Linked DNA regions of Homo sapiens: regions 1, 2, 4, 5, 6 and 7 are each linked to region 3. Evidence: promoter capture Hi-C in 16 types of primary human blood cells and fetal thymus (Javierre and others, 2016). All regions are on one chromosome and are shown on one strand. Each heading gives the region's core, a stretch centred on a gene start or on the middle of the fragment in contact. The rest is flanking DNA. Distances are from core to core; before and after follow the strand shown.

Evidence for each region. Contacts are between HindIII fragments. The CHiCAGO score rates a contact against its expected background, and 5 or more counts as called.
Region 1: a contact is called between a fragment that was not itself captured here and the fragment with the promoter of XPO5 in region 3, in 1 of 17 cell types (erythroblasts). The highest score is 5.1, in erythroblasts.
Region 2: the fragment with the promoter of RRP36 here is called in contact with the fragment with the promoter of XPO5 in region 3 in 3 of 17 cell types (erythroblasts, megakaryocytes and M2 macrophages); the score reaches 5.6 in erythroblasts.
Region 4: a contact is called between a fragment that was not itself captured here and the fragment with the promoter of XPO5 in region 3, in 1 of 17 cell types (erythroblasts). The highest score is 5.2, in erythroblasts.
Region 5: the fragment with the promoter of TBCC here is called in contact with the fragment with the promoter of XPO5 in region 3 in 2 of 17 cell types (naive B cells and fetal thymus); the score reaches 6.6 in naive B cells.
Region 6: a contact is called between a fragment that was not itself captured here and the fragment with the promoter of XPO5 in region 3, in 1 of 17 cell types (M1 macrophages). The highest score is 5.1, in M1 macrophages.
Region 7: a fragment that was not itself captured here is called in contact with the fragment with the promoter of XPO5 in region 3 in 1 of 17 cell types (M2 macrophages); the score reaches 6.5 in M2 macrophages.

Annotation. Positions count from the first base shown.
Region 1 is chr6:44,095,091-44,098,270 of GRCh38, reverse strand. No RefSeq gene overlaps it. Among named protein-coding and RNA genes, the nearest start is that of SCIRT, 22 kb to the right of the region's middle. RefSeq lists silencers at 1,278-1,447, 1,225-1,519. The HindIII fragment of the contact is 6,139 bases long and covers 1-3,180 here.
Region 2 is chr6:43,019,930-43,023,012 of GRCh38, reverse strand. It overlaps RRP36 (ribosomal RNA processing 36), which reads right to left and starts at 1,390. Exons shown (of 7, transcript NM_033112.4): 1 at 1,229-1,390. The coding sequence starts at 1,358. KLHDC3 (kelch domain containing 3) reads right to left here. Exons shown (of 11, transcript NM_057161.4): 11 at 1,719-2,346. The coding sequence ends at 2,280. RefSeq lists enhancers at 375-1,106, 1,489-1,538, 1,599-1,708, 1,107-1,838 and silencers at 1,189-1,258, 1,269-1,318, 1,329-1,398. The HindIII fragment of the contact is 2,407 bases long and covers 1-1,579 here.
Region 3 is chr6:43,574,472-43,577,947 of GRCh38, reverse strand. XPO5 (exportin 5) reads left to right here and starts at 1,910. Exons shown (of 32, transcript NM_020750.3): 1 at 1,910-2,188. The coding sequence starts at 2,084. It overlaps POLH (DNA polymerase eta), which reads right to left and starts at 1,763. Exons shown (of 11, transcript NM_006502.3): 1 at 1,508-1,763. RefSeq lists enhancers at 1-165, 1,494-1,743 and a silencer at 1,764-1,963. The HindIII fragment of the contact is 3,950 bases long and covers 1-2,923 here.
Region 4 is chr6:44,131,419-44,134,554 of GRCh38, reverse strand. The region is part of intron 1 of TMEM63B (transmembrane protein 63B); the gene reads right to left. Among named protein-coding and RNA genes, the nearest start is that of TMEM63B, 5.4 kb to the right of the region's middle. RefSeq lists enhancers at 1-424, 833-1,002, 425-1,390. The HindIII fragment of the contact is 938 bases long and covers 782-1,719 here.
Region 5 is chr6:42,744,318-42,747,537 of GRCh38, reverse strand. TBCC (tubulin folding cofactor C) reads left to right here and starts at 1,435. Exons shown (of 1, transcript NM_003192.3): 1 at 1,435-3,040. The coding sequence starts at 1,465. The coding sequence ends at 2,505. It also overlaps a transcript of BICRAL not described here. RefSeq lists a silencer at 377-436 and enhancers at 379-1,342, 1,407-1,616, 1,647-1,726, 1,787-1,946. The HindIII fragment of the contact is 2,174 bases long and covers 1-1,454 here.
Region 6 is chr6:44,114,957-44,118,120 of GRCh38, reverse strand. It overlaps MRPL14 (mitochondrial ribosomal protein L14), which reads left to right. Exons shown (of 3, transcript NM_032111.4): 2 at 1,492-1,580. The coding sequence starts at 1,510. Among named protein-coding and RNA genes, the nearest start is that of MRPL14, 11 kb to the left of the region's middle. RefSeq lists an enhancer at 746-915. The HindIII fragment of the contact is 188 bases long and covers 1,627-1,814 here.
Region 7 is chr6:42,633,889-42,637,346 of GRCh38, reverse strand. It overlaps UBR2 (ubiquitin protein ligase E3 component n-recognin 2), which reads right to left. Exons shown (of 47, transcript NM_001363705.2): 14 at 1,801-1,929; 15 at 153-336. Among named protein-coding and RNA genes, the nearest start is that of UBR2, 72 kb to the right of the region's middle. The HindIII fragment of the contact is 1,957 bases long and covers 320-2,276 here.

The DNA.
Region 1 (3,180 bases), core at 163-2,662, 520 kb before region 3:
ACCTTGACAATTACCTGCCAGTGACTTCAGGCAAGTCACCTTACTCTCTGAGTCTCAGCCTCCTCATTTGAGAAGTCAGGATGACAATGTCTGCCTTCCAGGGCTCTTGTGTGGATATGGAGTAGGCCGTAGAATTCTTGGCACATAGTAGGTGCTCAGCGTATCAATCATAGCCATTATTGTTATTTCAAATTTCAGCCAAAAATAATCACTTGAGCTCTTAGTAGGTGACAGTTGGATTAAGGACATTGGGACTGTATCTGGTTCAATCAGGGATGACTTCCTGGGGGAGGAGGGGCTTGAGCTACTTAAATATATGTGGGAAGTGGGGCAGCATTGAGTTAGAGAGAGGGCTGTGTGCAGAGGCCAGGGAGGGATTATGCCTGTGTGCCTATTATTAGTAATGATATTACTTATTTCCATATTATAGACAAAGAGGGAGAGTCCAAGTAACTTGTCCACAGACACATAGCTAGTAAGTGTAGGGTGTTCACATGGAAGGGATGGGCAGAGGAAGAGAAATGGGAAAATGCAGGAAACTGGGATAGTTCTGTGGGAGGAGAAGGGAGAAAAAGAATGGGCTTTGTAATCAGAAAGGCTCCTGAAGAGAGGGATGTGGGGGATTTAACAGGCCAGCCATTGCCCTTTACTTAAAAAAAAAAATGCCCAGGGGAGATGTAGGACCTTAAGGTCTTACCTTTGCAAGACGCTCTTGACAGAGGCCACTGGCTCTCCATCTCCCTTGGGCCCAAGCAGAAAGGATTGGGGCCCCTCCCCACAGGAAGGGGTGCTAGGCTGACTAGTCCTAGGAGGCTGGGCGTCTTTTCCCCAGGAACCCTCCAAGAACTGGGTGGGTTGAGAGCTGGCTGGCAGTACTGTGCCAAATGAAGTCGCTGCATGCCCTGTAACCTGGCAATTCCGCTTCTTAGGTTTTCAGGCCGAGCCGTAACGGTTCCTGTCAAGGACGGTCATGGCAGGGTTGCTGGGGTGTTGGAGGGAACTTGGGTGCCTGTCGCCCTCAGAGTGGGTAAATAAATGTGGAAGGTGCCCACCAGAAACTAAATGTGCTCACAGCAACATGAATGAGGTTTAAAAATACAGTGCTGAGCGAAAACAATTAAGAAATATATCTATAATGTGTGTGTGTGTTTTTTATATATATATATATATATATATATATATATATTACTAATTGTGAAACTAAAAAATACATGCACTTGTTTTGCAAGGACACATACAAATGGTTGGCTATGGGTTAGGATGAGGAATGAGAATAAAAATGAGATAAATGCAGAGTGTGGTGAAATCCAGTTCCTCTGCAGGTGGAAAGGGTGGCCAAGCGGTCAACCCACATTTCTGTGCACATTGTGCCATCTAGTGGGCAAAGGGGCGTTCAGCTGCCCTGGTCCTGGAGCTGGTGCAACTATGGCACCATGACATCCTGGGCAGGTGCTGCCTCAGCTGGGCCCCCAGAGCAGAGGTGAGAGGTGAGTGCTGCCTGTCAAGTGGGGGCCAGGCACAGCCTGCTGTAGGCCTGGCCAGTGGGGCTGGTAGCCATTTCTGTTGCAGCAGGGAGGAGGGTTCAGACAGGCCTGCCTGCCTCCAGGAGCTGTCTGATGTCAGGGCTGGCTCTTCACCGCCTGCTATGGCAGGCAGGCAGGTGGTTCCTGAGAAGGGAGTGGCTGAGACTCTGATGCCAGATTTTCACATGTAGCCCTCCCTTCTGGCAGGAAAGAGAGCATCTGGCAGGATCATTGTGAAAGCAAAGAGGAGAGAGGAGAGCAGGTAGAGACACTCAGAGTCTAGAGAGAGCAATGACTACCTTGAGGTGGAGTACGGAGGACAGACCCTGGCACCAGACTGCCAGGGTTCACATCCCTTGGGCAAGTCCCCTGTGCATCAGTTTCCCCTCCTTGGAATGTAATAGTACGTACCTTGTAGGGTTGAAGTGAGTCAAAATAAGGCACTTAAAACAGGTCCCCTTTCCGGGTCAGGGCTGTGTAAGTGTTGTCCACTCTCAGTATCTGAGGTTCACCCAACTCCTGTAAAGCCAGCACCCTGCTCTCATCCTTCATGAGAGTCATGGGGCATGAACAGAATGCCCTGGGCTGATGGGGGTCACTGCAGCAGGGCCTGGGGCTATAGGCTAGGAAGGGACTCCAGCCATGGACCCAGGCCAAACTGTGGAGGGAGGTGGGGTGAAGCAGGGCGGGGCCTGGGGCTGGGGACACTGCATTCTTTTTTTGTTTTTTGAGACGGAGTTTCGCTCTCGTCACCCAGATTGGAGTGCAATGGCGCCATCTCGGGTTCAAGCGATTCTCCTGCCTCAGCCTCCCAAGTAGCTGGGATTACGGGCTCCTCCCACCACGCCCAGCTAATTTTTTGTATTTTTAGTAGAGACAGGGTTTCACCATGCTGGCCAGGCTGGTCTCGAACTCCTGACCTCAGGTGATCCGCCAACCTTGGCCTCCCAAAGTACTGGGATTTTACAGGCATGAGCCACCACGCCCAGCTGGACACCCCATTCTTGGGGTCTGTAAAAATACTTTCTTGGCCGGGTGTGGTAGCTCATTCCTGTAATCCTAGCACTTTGGGAGGCTAAGGAGGGTGGGTCACCTGAGATCAGGAGTTCGAGACCAGCTGGCCAACATGGTGAAAACCTGTCTCTACTAAAAATACAAAAATTAGCTGGGTGTGGTGGCACACGCCTGTAGTTTCAGCTACTCAGGAGGCTGAGGCAGGAAAATCGCTTGAACTCGGGAGGCAGAGGTTGCAGTGAGCCAAGATCGCACCATTGCACTCCAGCCTGGGCAACAAGAGTGAAACTCCTTCTCAGTCTTGGTTACCTCTGGGGCTTGACGGGCCCTGTCCTGCCCCACCTCTCTCTACAGCCTCTGGCCATTTATTTTAGCTGCCCCTCCCCACACACCAGCCTCTCCAGGCCCCTGCATCACAGTCATCTTTCTAAAGCACAGTACAGCTCAGCCTGTTGAAGAACCTGCCTTGGCTCCTCGTTGCCCAGAAATTCAATGTAGACATCCTTGGTAGGCATTCAGGGTCCCTTCTGGTCTGGCCCACCCTGCCTTCCACGCCCATCTCCCGCCAGTTCTACTCTCAGCAACTCCATTGCCTCTCAGCTCCCACCAGGCCTCATGTTCCACATCCCTGGCCTTGCTCAAG
Region 2 (3,083 bases), core at 141-2,640, 550 kb after region 3:
TCCTTGGGAGGCTGAGGCGGGTGGATCACTTGAGCCCAGGAACTGGAGACCAGCCCTGGCACCTGGTAACATGATGAGACCTGGCTGGGCGAGGTGGCTCACGCCTGTAATCCCAGCACTTTGGGAGGCCGAGGCGGGCGGATCACGAGGTCAGGAGATAGAGACCATCCTGGCTAACACGGTGAAACCCCATCTCTACTAAAAATACAAAAAATTAGCCGGGCGTGGTGGCGGGCGCCTGTAGTCCCACTACTCGGGAGGCTGAGGCAGGAGAATGGCGTAAACACGGGAGGCGGAGCTTGCAGTGAGCTGAGATCGCGCTACTGCACTCCAGCATGGGCAACAGAGCGAGACGCCGTCAAAAAAAAAAAAAAAAAAAAGGTGAGACCTTGTTTCTACATTAAATAAATAAATAAATAAATAAACAAACCCATCCGTGCAGGCGTGGTGACGCGCCTGCAGTCCCAGCTACTCGAAAGGCTGAGGTAGGAGGATCTCTTGGGCCCGGGAGTTCGAGGCCGCAGTGAGCCGTCATGGTGCAACTACACTCCAGCCTGGGCTACAGGGCGAGACTTTGTCTCAAAAAAATAAAAAATATAAAAAATTTAAAAAACAGGCTGGGCGCAGTGGCTCACGCCTGGAATCCCAGCACTTTGGGAGGCTGAGGCGGGCGGATCACGAGGTCAGGAGATCGAGACCATCCTGGCTAACAAGGTGAGACCCCGTCTCTACTAAAAATACAAAAAATTAGCCGGGCGTGGTGGCGGGCGCCTGTAGTCCCAGCTGCTCTGGAGGCTGAGGCAGCAGAATGGCGTGAACCCGGGAGGCGGAGCTTGCCGACATCGCGCCACTGCACTCCAGCCTTGGCGACAGAGAGAGACTCCGTCTCAAAAAAAAAAAATTAAAAAAACAAAGTCTACGGAATCTGCTGAATTCTGATCTACTAAGCCTTCAGCAGCCATGCATGCCTTTTCCTGCCTCCATGCTATTGCACATACGTTCCCCATCGCCGAAAACCCTCATCCTGCCGTGAAGAAACTTCTCAGGATGTCCTAATCCCGGAAGCATCTACTCTCACCCCCCACTTTCCACTGCACTGGGGGCACCCCTAGTGTAGCGTCTGCCTCTTAGAGAACTTGGCAGTCTTACCGGCACCGTCTCTGCAGGCTCAGGGCCCCGCCTGGGAATCTCCTTCCCCTCCCCAGCCCGCCCTGCCCCATGCCCTCACCCCTCAATAGGTCGCGGGCCACGGCCGCGGGCTCCAGGCCCCCGCCGTCCTCCTCGCGGTCCCGGGCCCCGCGGGGACGTCGGGCCCCGGCCCCGGCCCCGGCCCCGGCGCGGTAGTTAGCTCCCGGCATCAGCTGGCAGTAGCGCTCGGAAGACGAATGGCGCCGCTTCCGCTCACGGCAGCCCCTGCCCCGCCTCTTCCGGCGTTCCCGGTCTCAACGTGGTGACGAATGGGCAGAAAACTGCGCGGTCGAGGGCCAGGGAGCCGGGCCCAAAGGATAACCCGCTCTGGAGACATTGTCGCAACCTTCTGCCCGAGTCGCAGGGTGCTGGGTTCCACGCCCGAGAAGCTTGGACCAGGCCTTGGTGGCATTTGGTTTCCTAATACCCTTGGCTGAGAAGCCAGAACCTCAGGGTGCTTGTCCTCGGCACCCTGCCCCCACTGCAAACTCCAGCCTTCTCCACCATATTCCACAAAAACACACAACACGTTTGGAGATTTTAATTAATTTTTATAAAATCTGAGCTGGCTGAACTTCAGAGTACAGCGACAGCTCAAGGAAGGGTGGGATTTATCTGCTGGTCCCCACCTCCCCAAGACGGGGAGAAGGAGGTCTCATGCCAACAGCTGCAACTCCTTTCAGCTCCCAGTCAAGGCTCAAGGCTCAAGCAGAGGGGAGGGGATAGGCAAAGGGGGAGGGGGAAGCTCCTGAGGCTCAGACACTGCTTGCTTCTCCCTTCTCCCCATTCCCTTCCCTTCCCAGCAGAACCTGGCTGGCCCTGGGCAGAGCTGAGGCCCAGGAGCAGCTGAAAGGAGGTGGATGGGGACAGAGCACCAAGGGGAAGGGGCCCTCGGCCCAAGGGGGGAGGAACCTAGCCCCCACCCCGCTACAGCTCCCCACTGAATTCACAGCACAGAGAACACCTCTCGCCCAACAACTCCACATGGAGGTATACCAAGTCCAGGGGTCAAAGGAGCAGGTGGGTGACAGATGGGCAGGGGCAGTGAAGATGACAGCAGGCTCAGGAGGGGAGGTGGCAGAAACTTCCTCCTACCCATGGGAGGAGACGATGGGGCGACTGATATTGCTGTTGGTGGTCATGGCATTCAGCTCCCACCTGGAAGGCCAACAATAAGAGACAGAAAGAAGAGGGGGCCCTCAGCCCAAGCTAAGGGATGTTTGAACCAAGCTAAAAACACACCAGTCTCTCCAACTTCCTAAAGGTCAACCACCCACAGCCACCTCTTACTTAAGAGACCTACTAGGTTGAACAATCAGAACCCACCCACCACCAAATCCAACACCACCCACTCCTCTACCTCCAAGCTCATATGGATTTCCGGTTTATGTTTATGTATGTATGTATATTGCAGTGTCCAGGCACCTGAGATCTGTGTATACATGTCAGTCAACATCCCAACCTGCCTTTCCTGCTTTGCTTAGAGCCAACCAGGCAGCCCCTCCACCTTACCCTCACCAGGAATGCCTCACCCCACCAGGAATACCCATTTTTGCTCTTAACTCCCATCCTTTTAAGGCTCTGACTCAGCACTCCTATCCTTCCTGAGGCCTTCCCCACCCACCCAACCATATTAATTTTTTTTTTGAGTCTTGTTCTGTCACCTAGGCTGGAGTACAGTGGTGCAGTGGCACAATCTTGACTCACTGAAACCCCCGCCTCCCGGGTTCAAGCAATTCTCTTGCCTCAACCTCCCAAGTAGCTGGGACTACTGGTGGCTGCCACTATGCCCAGCTAATTTTTGTATTTTTAGTATAGACAGGGCTTCACCATGTGGCCAGGATGGTCTCGAACTCCTGACCTCAACTGATTTGCCCACCTCAACCTCCCGAAGT
Region 3 (3,476 bases), core at 661-3,160:
CCCGCCCGGCTAATTTTTTGTATTTTTAGTAGAGACGGGGTTTCACCGTGTTAGCCAGGATGGTCTCGATCTCCTGACCTCGTGATCCGCCCGCCTCGGCCTCCCAAAGTGCTGGGATTACAGGCGTGTGCCACCGCGCCAGGCCGGGGATTTTTAAAAGCTCTCCAGGTAATTCCAATATGCAGCAGTTTGGGAGCCAAGACCTAAATAAGACAATCGAAACACCAGCAATCCATGATTTAAATACGAGAAACACAGGTTATACAGTTGAGTGAGCACCCAACTGTATTCTAAAAAAAGTTTTTCAAAAACTAACATTCACCTTGAAAAAAAAAACGTCTTACAACTGCAAAGCAGGAAGGTGAGTGGAAAGAAAAATAATTAAAATCAGAGCAGTCAAAGCATTAATTCCTTATAAATTCCAATCGACCACGCCTAAAACAGGCAGAATGTGATACTTTAAACATTTACAAGTTAAAACTATAACATGCCAGAAGTCCCTCTACTTTGAAGTGGCTTTTCAGTAGTACTGGAACAGACTGAGCCAACAAATAGTATTGTAACACAAAAAAACACAGGCTAAGCACCATATTAGATCCAAATACCAGAAGTGGAGCAAGAATAGGAAGCAGTGATTTATGTTCAGCACACAATTTACTAAGCACACAATCACAAAAACAGACATGCAGACTTTAACAGATAATAAAGCTGTTGAGGTTTTCCGTTTATGTATTTACTGGAGAAAGCAAGAGCTTTATTTATTTATTTTTGAGACGGAGTTTCGCTCTGTCGCCCAGGCTGGAGTGCAAAGGCGCGATCTCGGCTCACTGAACCTCCGCCTCCCGGGTTCAAGCGATTCTCCCACCTCAGCCTCCCGAGTAGCTGGGATTACAGGCGCGCACCGCCACGCCTGTATAAAAATACTAAAAATGCAAACATAATTTTTGTATGTTTAGTAGAAACGGGGTTTCACCATGTTGGTGAGGCTGGTCTCGAACTCCTGACCTCAGGTGATCCGCCCGCCTCCGCCTCCCAAAGTGCTGGGATTACAGGCGTGAGCCACCGCGCCCGGCCAAGAGCTTTATAAAGATGGAAAATGAAGAAGACTTTCTGCCCAAGCCATGCTTTTGGATAAGGATTACACTACTTTGAAACCTTATACATAGCACTTGGCCAATTATCAAAACTGCACAAACCTTCACTGATTGCAATTATTCCCTTTAAACATCTCGAGTTACCCCAATCCGCACAAAACAAGTTTAGTGCCCACCAGGTAATAATACATCCAGGAAAGTAATTCCAAGAGAGAGGTTTAACAACTACAGGGAAAAACATACTTTTTTCTACAAGAAAAATCTTAGAAGACAGTACCAGGGCCTTATCCCTGTTAGCATGATTTATATTTCACGCAACCTTGGCCCAGTCACTGCTACATTATAAAACCAATAGCCAAGGCAACATAGAAAGTCTGAACACAGTGACAGCGAACGGTTCTAAATTTTCTTACCAAGGTAACAAACACCTGGCAAAACTGCCAGCAGCGGTTGCCGAAAATGCTGGGTTCGGTGCCTACTGGAAGGAAAATGGAAGGGCTCCTGAATATCTTTTCGCCTTTCTAGGAGCGGTCCAGTGAGTTTCGAGCGAGATTTATTCCCTGTGACGACGGAGAAACCGAGAAGGGATCGTAAAGGATCCTGCCCGGGCAACCGTCCCCAGCAGGGATCAGACGAGAGCGGCGCGCCCAGCAATGCAGCCGCCAGACTGAGGTCTGACAGCGCGCCCGCTGCGAAGGGCCGTTGACGCGGCTGCGCACCGCGGCCCTTCCGCCTCCCGCCCCGCCCACCTAGGCTCAACCTGCACACGGGAGCCGCCACTTCCGCGGGCGCGTGCGCAGTGGCGGGCCGGGCGCGTGCGCAGCGCCGGCTTCTTCCCAGCGCGAGTTGCTGCTAACGCTCCTCCTCCAGCTTCCCACCCCCGCCGCCCGCCGCGGCCCGGTACCAACGGGTGGTCTCGCCGAGGGAGCTGTCGTGCCTCGTGGTCCCGGGACTGCAGTGGTGTGCGCTCTCGGCGCGTGGCGCTAGGCATGGCGATGGATCAAGTAAACGCGCTGTGCGAGCAGCTGGTGAAAGCGGTGACGGTCATGATGGACCCCAACTCCACCCAGCGCTACCGGCTGGAAGCCCTCAAGGTAGCTGGGGTCCTGGCGTCCTGGGCCGGTCCCGACACCCTCTCCCAGCCCCAGCAGCTCCGGCGCCGCCTGTAACTGGGGTAGTCTCCCGCCCACGCGGCCCCTGGACCTCCTTTCCCAACTCCCCGGGACCTTCCCCTCGCGGCCCTCCGCGCCTCTCCCAAATCGCCGCCTTCTCTACTCGCCGCTCCTGTCCTTTGCCTGGGACACTCCGGTCCCTATGCTGCTTCTCATCTCGCCGCAGCTTCCCACAGCCCTCTCCTCCCCCTTTCCTCGCTTCTGTGCACTCTTGTCCGCAACATGACCCTCGCCCATTTTCATTCCCCAAGCCCGACATCCCCTCGCCTTCCCGAGGCGCACGTGTAGATCCCGCCCCCAACACCAGCTTCGTTCTTTATGGTCTCTCCTGCACTAAACGTTTTCCTGCTGGCCCACTCCCCTGGCCCTGACCGAGCTCCAGCCCCTCTGGTACCCTTATGCTTATATGCTTTAACATCTCGCTAACTTTCGTTTGTGTCTTGGACATTTTCCGGGGAAATTCTCGCACCCCTACTTCTCCCATGTTTTTGAGTGTAATATTTTTAGGCTATTTTGCGCAAAGATAACTTCTACCACTTACTTTGCATTTTAACAAGGGCACTTTGGTTTCCTGAAAGTAGTTTGCGTGAGACCCGAATGCTCTGCTCTTGGGACTGACTTATGTTGCAGTTTGGGGGTGTTAATACAATTCAAGCTTACTTGCCCATAAAACAACGTGTGTGGGCTGTGAGAAATGGCCATTTAGGAGAAAATACTTGTGCTGTACATTTTTAAAGTGATGTTAACTTCAAAAAAGAGAGTGACCACCACTTGGAGGAAATGTTACAATATGTAGATGTCTGCCACAGGGTTTGGAATCAGAAACAATTGGGTTCCATTAGTTTGGTTTTTATTATTAATATTTAAAATAGACACAAAAGTGGAGAGAATACGACAGTGATTCTGCATGTTCCTGTCACCTAAATTCAGCAATCAAAGATTTTACCGCATTTACTTTTTCCACCGCCTATCCTCTCTCCCTGCCTCGAAGGTTTTTAAAAGAAACCCTAGAAATTGTTATTTCACCCCTATGTACGTCAGGGGGATGTCTCTAACAAATAATTTCTTATTCCTTTGTGTCCATTTTTTTCCAACACTAGTAGGGCTACTGTTGGCCGTAGCATGGAAAAAATCTGGAACCATCACGCTGGAAGGAATGTTTATCAGTTCTTTATTCATAATATATATATAATATATACACATAAAATAG
Region 4 (3,136 bases), core at 1-2,500, 560 kb before region 3:
AGAGGGTGGAGCAGTCAGCTGGGCTTGCCCCCATCCCCTTCATGGCCCAGTAGGGTGGGCGTGGGGAGGGGGCAGTGAGGACAGATCACCAGGCTGCCTGGGTGGATGGAAGCTCTGGCCTCTGGAGATAAGGGCCTAGGGAGGGGAGAGTTGAGTCACATGGATTTACCTTCACTGGCTCTCTGGCTATGACCCCACCCTGGGTCTGGGGAACTCAGTCTAGATGCCAGGCCTGGACTGGGGAGGCTGGTTTCATTAAGCTGGAAGGTATCTGTGATTTTCTAACATCTATCTAAATCCCCCCTGCCGCCGCCACCCCCACACTCTCATTCTCTCTGTCTTAGGGCAGGGGGCGGAGCTGAGCCTGGGAAGACAGGGAGGGGTCTTAGGCCTGAGGACTCAAGGGTAAGATGAGGGGTCTCCACGTCAGGGGAGAATGGGTCAGGAGCCAGCTGCCTCATCCTGATCTTTTCTTTCTATGCCTATTAGAAAAAATGGCATGATTTCATTTGGTTAGAGTTTTGAACTCAATATAACTGGCTTAGGTTCGACGATGGGTCAGAGTAGGAAGTCAAGTAAATAGTAGGACTTCTGGGTTTGAGTTACCTGCCTGGCCCCAGCCACTCCTGCTTATTCTCATTTCTCTTCCCCATACCATAGTCCTCTCTCCAGTTATTTGCACAGGGATCGCCTGAGTGTTATGAGCACTACAACTCCCAGAGTGCCATGCTCCTGCCTCTGAAGCAGGGAAGGCTGGGAAAGCTATGCCCTACGGCAAGCTTTTCCACTGGCAAAGGAGGGGGGAGTGGGTGGGGGCCTCTTAGCCTGCCTGGGCAGCCAGGGTGCTGCCTGGTTGCCTGCAACTGGCCGGCTGCATTGATGCTCAGAGTGGATGGGGTGGGCAGGAGGAGAAAAGGGACAGCCAGCCTGAGTGCCTGGGTTCTCAAAGTGCTTGGGGACAGAGCAGAGTGGGGCCCTGGGGAGGATCCCAGGATAGCGGAGAAGTGTGGCCTCAACAGATGCAGCACTGCCCCACCCATTTTACTGGGGGGTCCCTGGGGGACCCTTCTGCTGACAACACTGAAGCTCTGCCTCGGGGGCGGGCTGTGGAGCAGGGGAGGAGGTCCTCAGGGAAGAAAAAGGAAAACCAAAGAGAACAACAAAACTAGAAACAGTGACTGCAACTTCGGGAGCAGCATCCCTTAGCCCCCAGGGGGACTCAGAGGGTTTCTCCTGCCTCTTCCTAACACTTCAACCACAGGGCAAGAGGCAGAAGCCCTCAGATGGAGGGGAGGATGGAGTTGTTTATGTGTTTCACTTGGTCCCAGGGAGTCTCTGCAAAGCCTGGATTAGGAAGACTAAAGGAGTGTGTGCTGGTGTGTTATGCCTCTTCCTTTTCCAGTCCAAGCTGCCTTTAAAAACACACTAATTTAGTAATTGTATTGGGTACCATTTGTCCAGTGCCCTCAGTTTCAAGAATAATATATTACATGATTTCATTTAATCCTCGACGATCCTGAATTGAGTGTCACTGACATTTTAGGGTGGGGGCACAGGGCCTCAGAGGTTAAGTAACTTTCCCAAGGTCACACTGCTAATAAAATGAGGGACCTAGGACTCAAACCTAGCTCACCTTCTTTCTAAAGCTAGAATGATTTTCAGGGCACCACGGTGCTTTTCTGATGTTCCTAGAACAGGACTCGGCAGACCATGGAAGCTTTATAAATGCTCATTAAATGTTCTCAGGCCAGAGAACCTGTGGGTGCTGTGGAAATGTGTGTGTCCAGGTATGTAAATGTGTGTTGATGTGTGGACCTGTGTCCAGGAGGAGCTAGGTGACTGCATGGCAGTCCACGGAAATGAAGGGAGTTGTTGGCTTCGAAGTGGGGGTGTGAACATGGGTGTGTCTGGGAGCCCGGGTATGTAAACATAAGATGCACAGAACCCTGGGGCACTATGGGAGGTTAAAGGTAGGTATAGGTATCTTGGGTTGGGGGGACTCTAACTAGTCCCCCTTTCTCAATTCTCAACTCCAATGTACTCCAGCAATCTCAACACTCTATTCCCACCCCTTGCCTGTTTCTCTCTCTGAATTCCAAGGCTCCATCAGATCAGAATGAAATGAGAACAAGCCCCAGAGTACCATTCCTATCAACTCCTGTCTTCTCCACACCAAAGAAAGGTAGAGCATTTTGGAAGCTTCTACATGAAGTGGCCCCAGCAGGGTGGACAGGATCTAGCTAGATGGTTAGTAACTGAAATCACCATGCTCCTCTGCTGTCCGCCTCCTTGGGGTCACAAAGTACTCTCCCCTCCACAACAGCATTAATCTTCCCACCTGCATGGGAGGAAGGCAGGGCACACTCAGATCACTATCCCCATTTTACAGGGAGGAAGCAGGAACCCAGTAGGGGAAGCAACTTGCACAGTGACAGGACAGGTAAGGGGTGGAGCCTGGGCTGGCAGCTCTGCCAGTTGACAGGGCTGCTCCAAGCTTTTAATTGTGGGGGTGGGGTTGCTGGGTTGAGTTTCATCAAGGGCAGCTGCTCTCAAAGCCAGCACTGGGCTGAGCAACTGAGAAGAGGGAAGACATTGAGGCAGAATACCTTGGGGATGGGAGGTGGCAGTTCTTCCACTCCACGAGGTGCCTGCACCAGCTATATCCCAGTTTCTCTAGTCTGATATTGAGGTTTTGGTTGAGGTGTGTCCAGAGAGTGATGGAGCATTTTACTTCTAGCTAACTTTTTAATTTTACCATTAAGGAGTGTGTGCATGGTGGGGGTTGGAGAGCTATAACTTATAAGCTTTTTTTTGGGGGGGTTGTTGTGTATTTTTTTGAGACGGAGTCTCGCTCTGTCACCAGAGTGGAGTGCAGTGGCGCGATCTTGGCTCACTGCAACCTCTGCCTCCTGGGTTCAAGGGATTCTCCTGCCTCAGCCTCCTGAGTAGCTGGGACTACAGACACATGCCACCACGCCCAGCTAATTTTTGTATTTTCAGTAGAGACAGGGTTTCACCATGTTGGCCAGGATGGTCTCGATCTCTTGACCTCATGATCTGCCCACCTCGGCCTCCCAAAGTGCTGGGATTACAGGAGTGATATAAGCTTTTTCAGTGGAGTTACTGGGCAAGATTT
Region 5 (3,220 bases), core at 186-2,685, 830 kb after region 3:
GTGGGAAGGAAAGGAAGAGAGTGGGGCGTGAAAATGGGAGATCAGTTTTAACTCAGATTTAATTCAATGGTTCGCGTTTCCTCCCATCTTTCTCTGCATCAAAATGCAGGTAGATCGGTGAAATTTCAAGTTTCTTGGGTCGTTAAATACCCCAATTTAAACGATGGAGGCTGGGAACTGGGGATATAAGGAGGAAACCTAGGGTTGGAAGGGCGGGCAGGGTTAAAGAGGTTCGGGAGCTCCGCAGATCTGAGCGAAGCATGCGAGGCTGCCGCGCCCGGGCAGCGGCTGCGTCTCGGGTTCTCGCCCTGCCCGCTGCCTCGGGTTTTTGCCAGTGACTGCGCCGTCTTGGCTGCCCACCCACACCTCGGGTTGGTCCCGACTTTAGGCTAGGCCATTCACTTCCGGTGACAAATCCCTCCCACCACCCCTAGAAATAATGTACCGCTTCTCCCACCGCTTTCCTAAGACCGACCGCCCCAGAGAGCCACGGAGCCCGGGGCTAGGGTCTCACCCCAGCGCGGCCGGCGACGCCCAGCTGCGGAGGGAGTGGCCGGGACCGAGCTCGGGGAGGGCAGGGAAGAAAGAGGAAGGGGGTGTGGATCTCACCTTCCCCCGCCCCCACCCCTCCGACTGCAGCAATTGGCCAAAAAAATAGTAATCCTTTTATGGACTCCCCCAGGGCCCCTCGAACCAGGTTGCAGTGAGGAACCCAGTCTCTCCCATCGCAGTGCCCCTTGCCTTCTCCTGCCCTAGTAACTGCCTGCGGGGATCCAGGAGCCCCCAGGCCGCGCCGAACTGCAGTGGATAGGGGGGAGGGGGGCGGTAAGGATGAGGGCTACGGGGAGGCAGAAATGGGTTGGGGGAAGGGGTGGTGGAAGGGAAAAGAAAAAACCGGAGGCATGCAAGCGGCTCCCCAGCCAGCTGTTCCAGCTGCTGCTTCCTCCGGCGCGGGCCAGGCGGTGCAATATTCCCCCCCGCTCCATCTTTCTCACCACTACCTGTCCCCCCAACCCACCACACGCACTCATCCCTCCCACCCACACCCCTAGTAGCGGATCTCCGGCCTGTAAGGGGGTAGTAGGGAGGAGCTGGGGGGAGGGGGAGGCCTGCGAGTTTCTAACCTTGTTCTTATAAACAAACCCACATGTGCAGCTGCCGCTGCTGCAACTCACCCCACAATCCCGGATATAAGTCCTGCCCCTTTAAGAGGAAAAAAAAGATTCCCCCGCCTGCCTCCCACCCCACCCATCCACAAGAACCTTTGTCTTCCCACCCCCATAGTCAGTCGGCCCCGCCCCATCTCCCCGCCCCCTCCGACGCAGAGGAACCAATAGGCGAAGAAAATAAGGCCGGGGATCTGACATCATCATGTTAGGCCAATCACCGGACGCGTTGGTGGGAGGCCTCACGGACAGCGCGCCCGGAGGAAGGAAGACAAGAGAGAGGAAGCTTGAAGCCAATATGGAGTCCGTCAGTTGCTCCGCTGCTGCTGTCAGGACCGGAGACATGGAGTCCCAGCGGGACCTGAGCCTGGTGCCTGAGCGGCTTCAGAGACGCGAACAAGAACGGCAGCTGGAAGTTGAAAGGCGGAAACAAAAGCGGCAGAACCAGGAGGTAGAGAAGGAGAACAGCCACTTTTTCGTCGCCACCTTTGTTCGGGAGCGAGCGGCCGTGGAAGAGCTTCTGGAGCGCGCGGAGTCGGTCGAGCGGCTGGAGGAGGCGGCCTCTCGGCTCCAGGGGCTGCAGAAACTAATCAACGACTCAGTTTTTTTCCTAGCCGCTTACGACCTGCGGCAGGGACAAGAGGCGCTGGCGCGGCTGCAGGCGGCCTTGGCCGAGCGGCGCCGGGGGCTGCAGCCCAAGAAGCGTTTCGCTTTCAAGACCCGGGGAAAGGATGCTGCTTCGTCTACCAAAGTAGACGCGGCTCCTGGCATCCCCCCGGCAGTTGAAAGCATACAGGACTCCCCGCTGCCCAAGAAGGCGGAAGGAGACCTCGGCCCCAGCTGGGTCTGCGGTTTCTCCAACCTGGAGTCCCAAGTCTTGGAGAAGAGAGCCAGCGAGTTGCACCAGCGCGACGTTCTTTTGACCGAACTGAGCAACTGCACGGTCAGACTGTATGGAAATCCCAACACCCTGCGGCTAACCAAGGCCCACAGCTGCAAGCTGCTCTGCGGTCCGGTGTCTACCTCTGTTTTCCTGGAGGACTGCAGTGACTGCGTGCTGGCAGTGGCCTGCCAACAGCTCCGCATACACAGTACGAAAGACACCCGCATCTTCCTGCAGGTGACCAGCAGGGCCATCGTGGAGGACTGCAGTGGGATCCAGTTCGCCCCTTACACCTGGAGCTACCCGGAGATCGACAAGGACTTCGAGAGCTCTGGTTTAGATAGGAGCAAAAATAACTGGAACGATGTTGACGATTTTAACTGGCTGGCCCGGGATATGGCCTCCCCAAACTGGAGTATTCTTCCTGAAGAGGAGCGAAATATCCAGTGGGACTAAGCAGTTGTCACTCTGTTCTTCACTCCTACCAAATACTTTCCACGTTGGACTTTCCCCCTTATTGGGTCTCGAAGTTTACTTATTGTCACACTGTGTATGTTTTCAGCATTTTAAGGCTAGAGATTGTAATGGGCTCCTACTTGTAATTTCCATTAAATTCGTAACAGGTATAACACTAAAGCATTTTTGCTATTTTCGTCATGCCTTTGAGACTGAGTCTTACTCCGTCCCCCAGCGTGGTGGCGCGCTGGGATTACAGGCGCGCGCCACCACGCGAACTTGTATTTTTAGTAGAGACGGGGTTTCGCCATGTTGTCCGGGCTGCTCTCGAACTCCTGACCTCAGGTGATCCACCCGCTTCAGCTTCCCAAAGTGCTGGCATTACAGGCGTGAGCCACCACGCCAGGGCTTTATTTATTTATTTTTACCACAATAGTTTGAAGCAGTAAGGGGGAAGGAGGGTGATTATATTGCTTTGTAATGGTTTGTGATACTTGAAACATCACGGTGCATAATAAAGTAGGTCTGCAGTAAATACATGGGTTTGTTTGGTGTGTGTGTGTGTGTGTGTGTTTTGTTTTTAAAGAGATGGGCTCTCCTTATGTTGCCCAGGCTGGTTTCGAACTCCTGACCTCAAGCAATTCTCCTGCCTCAGCCTCCCAAAACACTCGGATTATAGACAGTAACCAGCAGTGTCAGGGTATAGATACATATT
Region 6 (3,164 bases), core at 471-2,970, 540 kb before region 3:
TGCCTTCTTTTGCATTTGATTTTTCTGATCATAATTACATTTTGGCTGATGCTTCATGGGTTGTCTTAAGGAAAACATTTGGGAGTAAGTTTGGGATTTGAGGCTAAATTGTAGTTAATAAGCATTTAAAGGCCAGGTGTGGTGGGTGGCTCACACCCATAATCCCAGCACTTTGCGGGGCTGAGGCGGGAGGATTGCATGAACTCAGGAGTTCAAGGCCAGCCTGGGCAACATAGTGAGACCATCATCTCTACAAAAAAAAAAAAAAAAAAAAAAAAAACACAAAAAATTAGCCAGGCGTCCTGGTGCATGTCTGTGGTCCTGACTACTTGGGAGGCTGAGGTGGGAGGATCACCTGAGCTTGGGGAGTTCGGGACTGCAGTGAGCTGCAGTTGCACCACTACATTCCAGCATGGGTGACAGAGCAAGACTTGTCTCAAGGAAAGAAAAAAAAGTATGGAGTGTCTAGGTATTCCTGGGGAGGAGTGGATTCCCCTGCCCCACCCTAACATTCTTATTAAATAAAATCTTATCTGAGGTGGTTTGAACTTGTGCATAGCAAAGCTGTGTGTAAATACTACAGTGTAGAGGCTTTTCTCGGCAGACCTCTTGAATGGGCACCTCTGCTGCCAAACGTTTGGGTGGAAAAACAGGTGTGTTTTGCAGCTGGCTACAGGCCTTTCTGAAGCATGCTCTGAAGTGATGTTCAGGTGTTTCAGGGCACTGGCAGCCTCCATATTTGTTAGTGCTAGGGAGCAACAGGGTTGAGATTCTGAAAACTGGAGTCACAAGTCTTGGGTTGGTGTTTGCTCTTTTAGCTAACTCTTCAAGTTGGTTTCCCAAAGCCCACTTTCAGCTGTAGTATGGTGTAGGTCAGTTTTCCATGTTACAGTGTTTGGGAGACTGACCCAAATAAAGACTTTGGTCTTTGACTTGGCAAGAGCAGCCTTTGGCTTTGCTTTGCTGGCCTTGAGCTGTACAGGTGTTCTGGCCTTTACATTTGGGGGAAAGGTGATGTAGTGATAGACAACTTGGGTGGCTGCTTAGATAATTTACTTTCTTTTAGGGAGTTAAAGTGCTGGTTTCAGAAGGCATATGAATATCAAAAAGGGCAATAGTGTGCAGTTTTTCCTCTATGGAGGACTCGAGAAGAAGTCCCTGGCTGGGTTTATAACCAAGGGCTCATATTTTCCTCCTGCCTGTGGAAGTGATATAATAAGGAAGGCATTCTCCGTGCTGTTGTATTTTTTTATAGCAGAAGCTGTTGTGGGCCATTCTCCCTCTCCAACCCCAGAGTTAGAATGTGAATCAGCAAAATCGGAGCTACAGCTCTGTCTAATCATCTGTGTATCCTTTAACCACTAAGATTTATATTTTGTGACTAATGATCTTGTGCTGGAAGTGCCATCTCCCACACAAGTCCCCAAAGAAAACTGGCTTTAAGGGCTCTGACTTAGAAACCAATTTTTCCCCCTCTCGTTTTTCCTGCAGGATCTATCTTGGGATCCCATGGCTTTCTTTACTGGGCTCTGGGGCCCCTTCACCTGTGTAAGCAGAGTGCTGAGCCATCACTGTTTCAGGTAACTTTTCCCATTAAGTTCTTAAAACTGTGTCTTTGTGTAAGCTTCCTATCAGGGCTGGGTATTACGGTGACTAGAACAGGAGTAAAAACTCAGGGAGGTGGGCATGGGGTTGGGGAAAGCTAAAGTGATCAGGCTGAGCTGGCCTGGTTGGTCTGGTCACAGGATGGGGGATAGGTAAAGAGGTGATGTTGCTGTTAGAAGTGTGATGGGGAATGGCATATGGCGGAAGCTTTTACTCTTCAGTCCTTGCAAGACTCTTACAGTGAATCTGACATCTCTCAACCCTATCATTCCCCTAGAGCATTAAAATCCTTTTAAAAACGGAATTTTTTTAATTACAAAAATAATACATGCTTATTACCAAGAACTTGAGCATGATAGAAGTGTGACACCCTCCCCTCCTTGTAGATGCTAAGCCAGGAGAGCACAGGAGGCACGCTTGTTGGCAGACATGCCTCCTGGCCCCGTCATGCCCTCATCCCACAGGCATTTCCTGAGCACCGCACCTGGGGTTGGCCATACAGAGATGAAAGAGAGTTGCTTTCTGTCCTGAAAGAATTCTCACTGTCAGCCACAGGAGCAAACTTGAAAATAAGTAACTCTAAGAAAATGTGATAGAATATTATAATAGAGGATTGTACAGTGCTTTGGAAGGCGTCATATAGGAGCTGCTAGTGGAGGAAGAGGAGGAGAAAGAGTGGAGGCAGTCTTCTCAAAAGGGAGATGGGGGCAGATCCTGTCTAGGCCTCCAGGGAGAATTGGGAGGCAGGGTGTGCTTGGGGAAGTGGTTCCTGGTTCTCCTGCCCAGAGTGGTAGGATGTGTAGCCTTAGAAGGTAGGTAAATTGGGACAAGGTTGTTGACAGTGTAGATGGTGGGGAGTAGCATCACTTTTATATTCTAAAGAGAGCTCTTTGTTGGCAAAGTGAAGTGCAATGGGAACCAACTAGGACACTAATGTCACAGTCTTGGTGTAGGAGAGTGAGCTGCTAAATGAAGGAAGTTGTTGGCGGGATTGGAGAGAAAGGACATAGGTGCTTAGGGGGTGATATTAACAGGACTTGGTGGCCAGTTCATGTTGGTGGAGAGAGGTTTATGGCTTGGCTTCTGGTACTGCTGGAGAAGCCATCGTCTAGATAAGTGTAGCAGCAGGCGGAGGTTTGCAAGGGGAGGCAGTGAGATGAGTTTGGGACCTACTGAGTTTGCAGTATCTATAGAGCATGTTGTAGGGAGTTGAGGAGAGTGGAAATATATAGAACTAGAATATAGAAGAGAGGCGGGGCTGGAGATGGAATTTACTAGTTGGCAGCAATGCTAATGGGTAAGATTGCCCAGAGTAGGCATAAAAAACGAGAGAAGAGGTCCTAGGATTACCCTGCGGAAACACCAGCATCAGGTGCTAGCATCAGGAAAATAGGAATCCCACTGTAATCAGCTTGCTTAATAATACCTTGTCTGCCTTCAATAAGTACTCTCTAAAATTTTTTTTTCTAATGAGAAAAAATGTATTAAAACAGAAGATTGTTACCTTGACTTATTACCAGTTTCTGGTATGTTGTGTCAGAGAATTCCCTTAGTAAACT
Region 7 (3,458 bases), core at 49-2,548, 940 kb after region 3:
CCTACTTCACAGGACGATGTGATGATTGGATAAGTTAATGATGTAGAAATCACAGAATAACATCTGGCACAAAGTAAGTATTCACAGATATTAACCACAAACAACAATTTAAAAGATAATTTTAGGGTTTTATTTTAGGGGAAATGCTTTACCTGCAAGTAAGCGAGAAACTGGGAGGTGAATGCTAACTTTTTCTTGGGAAACACAGTATCTGATAGTTTCCACTGAATGTCCACAAATGCTTAGTGTGATTGGCTGTTCACCATCAGTATAACCACCATGACACTGCATCAGTACAGCGAGACATTTCTTGTAAGCTTCGATTAACACTTTTTCCTAAAAAAGAGGGTTTTTCTGTAAGTTACTCAAAAGGTTGAGTTTTTACAACATTGAATAAGCACCTTAAATTCAGTGAGTAAGTACCTCAAATAACAATATAGGCAAAACCAAACTCAATCCTCCCTCCCAAATTTGGTCCCTCTTCCAGTGTCCCTCATCTCAGTGAATGATACATTTACTCATATAGTGCAGAAATCTAGAAGTTATTCCAATACCCTCCTTTCCCCCATTCCCCATTGTCCAATCTATTACCAAGCTGGCAACTTCATCTTCTAAGTTTCTCTCAAAACTTGCTACTTTTCTCTATCTCTAGTAACTCCAAGGCATTGCCAAGCGTCTCTCTATTAAATTCCTGCTTTGACTCTTGCCCCCTTCATCCATTCTCCATACAGAGCAATTTTAAAAAACATGTAAATTGAATCATGTCACTGTATGGAAAATGGATAAAGGGGGCAAGAGTTGAAGCAGGGAATTTAATAGAGAGATGGTAATCTCTAAAGGCTTCCCACTTCAATTCAAATAAAATGCAGGCTGAGTGTGGTGGCTCACGCTGGTAATTCCAAGACTTTGGGAGGCCGAGGCAAGCAGATCGCTTGAGCCCAGGAATTCAAGACCAGCCTGGGTAACACGGCGAAGCCCTGTCTCTACAAAAAATAGAAAAATTAGCCAGGTGTGGTGGTGTGTGCCTGTTGTCCCAGCTACTTGGGAGGCTGAGGTGGGAGGATCACCTAAGCCCAGGGAGGTTGAGGCTGCAGTGAGCCGGGATTGCACCACTGCACTCTGGCCTGGGCAACAGAGTAAGCTGTGTCTCAAAAAAAAAAAAAACAAAAAAAAAAACAACCATGGCCAAGGCCCCGAAAAATCACTCCTGTGCCCAAATCTCTGTTCTCTACTTCTGTGCTCCAACCACAGACCTTTCTATAGCTCCTAGGACTACCCTAGTCCCTGTCATCACAGACTATAATGCAGCTGTCTTCTCAGTCAGGAATATCATTTACTCATTGTTCCATTAACTTTTACAGATTGTTCAGACCTTACAGAAACCTCCCTAACCTCATAATGTATACAGGCTCTCATCTAGACTTTATCGCCAAAGGAAGGCCAAAATAATTTTAAGACACAGGACAAATGTACCAATAATAAAACTTTATTTTTGAATAAATTTAGAAACTACCATTTTTATATCCTCAAAGTCTAGAAGGGATTATGGAAAAAAAACAAAGATAGTTACATTAGGGAAGAGACAATCTGGATTATTTCTTTCTCTATTTTTCAAGTTTTTCCTCAGGCTGTAGAATTTTAAAATTTTACTGAGTTTATAGGTGGAGAAGGAAAATACGCTGTTTAATGAACTAAGTATCACCACTATTTTCTCCAGATCTCCTTGAAATTTACTTAGGATTCTGCTTATTCCTCCCTCTTCCACTTTCCTCCTATTCCCCGCACCCAGAAGAAACTCACATCTGAAGCACACCAGTCCTGCATCATTGAAATGACATGTGTTAATTTCATTTGTAGTGTGAAGGCTGCTTCCCACTCTGGTTCCATTTCAATATGTTGTCCTACTTGACGTGTAATTGGATCCATTCCCTTAACGGAAGTGAAAAAATTATATATGAATGAAAATAATAGTTGTTCTTTTATATGGAAACCTAAGAAGTAATGTAGGAGAAATATATATTGATTATAAAAACATAGAAGGTATAAGTTTTAACAGGAAACTTCAAGTACTATGAGAAATAATAGCTTTTAAAATTATGTGTTTATATAACATTCTCTAAAATATAAATTTAGAAATCCCAATAAACACATTATTTCAGAGGTATCATCTAAGATCTGTTTTAGGCAATAAAATACTTCAATATTTCACTGCAATAATCCTTCCTTTTTAGCTCTATGGTCTATAGAAAAAATTGTTAAAAGAAATGTGACAAGCTTTTAAAATGTTATTGAATTTATAACTGTATTTTATAATAAAGTTTTAATATTATGTCCTAATATGCAATTAGAAGTTTTCACAGAGCCTGAAAGAAGGCAAAACAATAAATAGCTTTTAATTAAAATTACTGTTCAGAAACTAGCCTAACTATTCTAGTATGTCAGAACTTATTAAACAATAGAGAATACAGAATACTTCAAGTATCAAAAATGACCAAAGTAGCTATTGTTTTCACAGATACATGAAAAACATAGTAGTATTATAATAAACACCCATGAACTACCACCCAACCTAGGAACTAGAATGGTAAGTCAGGCCAGACATGGTGGCCCACGCCTGTAATCCCAGCACTTTGGGAGGCCGAGGCGGGTGGATCACTTGAGGTCAGGAATTCAAGACCAGCCTGGCCAACATGGCGAAACCCTGTCTCTACTAACAATACAAAAATGAGCTAGGTGTGGTGGCGTGCACCTGTAATCCCAGCTACTCGGGAGGCTGAGGCAGAAGAATTGCTTGAACCTGGGAGGCAGAGGTTGCAGTGAGCCAAGATCGCGCCACTGCACTCCCGCCTGGGCGATAGAGCAAACCTCCACCTCCAAAATAAATAAATAAATAAAAATAAATTCAAACAAATAAAAATAAAAATGGTAAGTCAACTTTGGTCATTCCTTTTCTTAAGAAAGCCAGGTGGCTACTAAAGAAATCATAATAGTACTTGCTCAGATTTTTAGAGACGTCACCTATCTTCTTACAGTTATAACTGGTTAAATATACCTGTTCGTTTCTACTTCTAGATTCTGTTTTGTATATAGGGATGTTTCCTAAAAAGAGAATTAAACAGGGGAAAAAGGTCTACACTGTATTATATAAATACCACATGAAGGAGAGAAAAAGAAACATGGAAACATTAAAAAGCAAAATCAAAAACCACTACAGTTTCTCAAATAACTTGACTATACTTCCAAGAAAGCATATTAAAAAAATAAACTTGTAACCTCTAAAGAAAGAACATTAGTGGAAACCAAAGAAATATAAAAGTGGCTGGCGCAGTGGCTCATGCCTGTAATCCCAGCACATTGGGAGGCCGAGGTGGGCGGATCACTTGAGGTCAGCAGTTTGAAATCAGCCTGGACAACTTGGTGAAACCTCGTCTCTACTAAAAATACAAAAAATAGCCAGG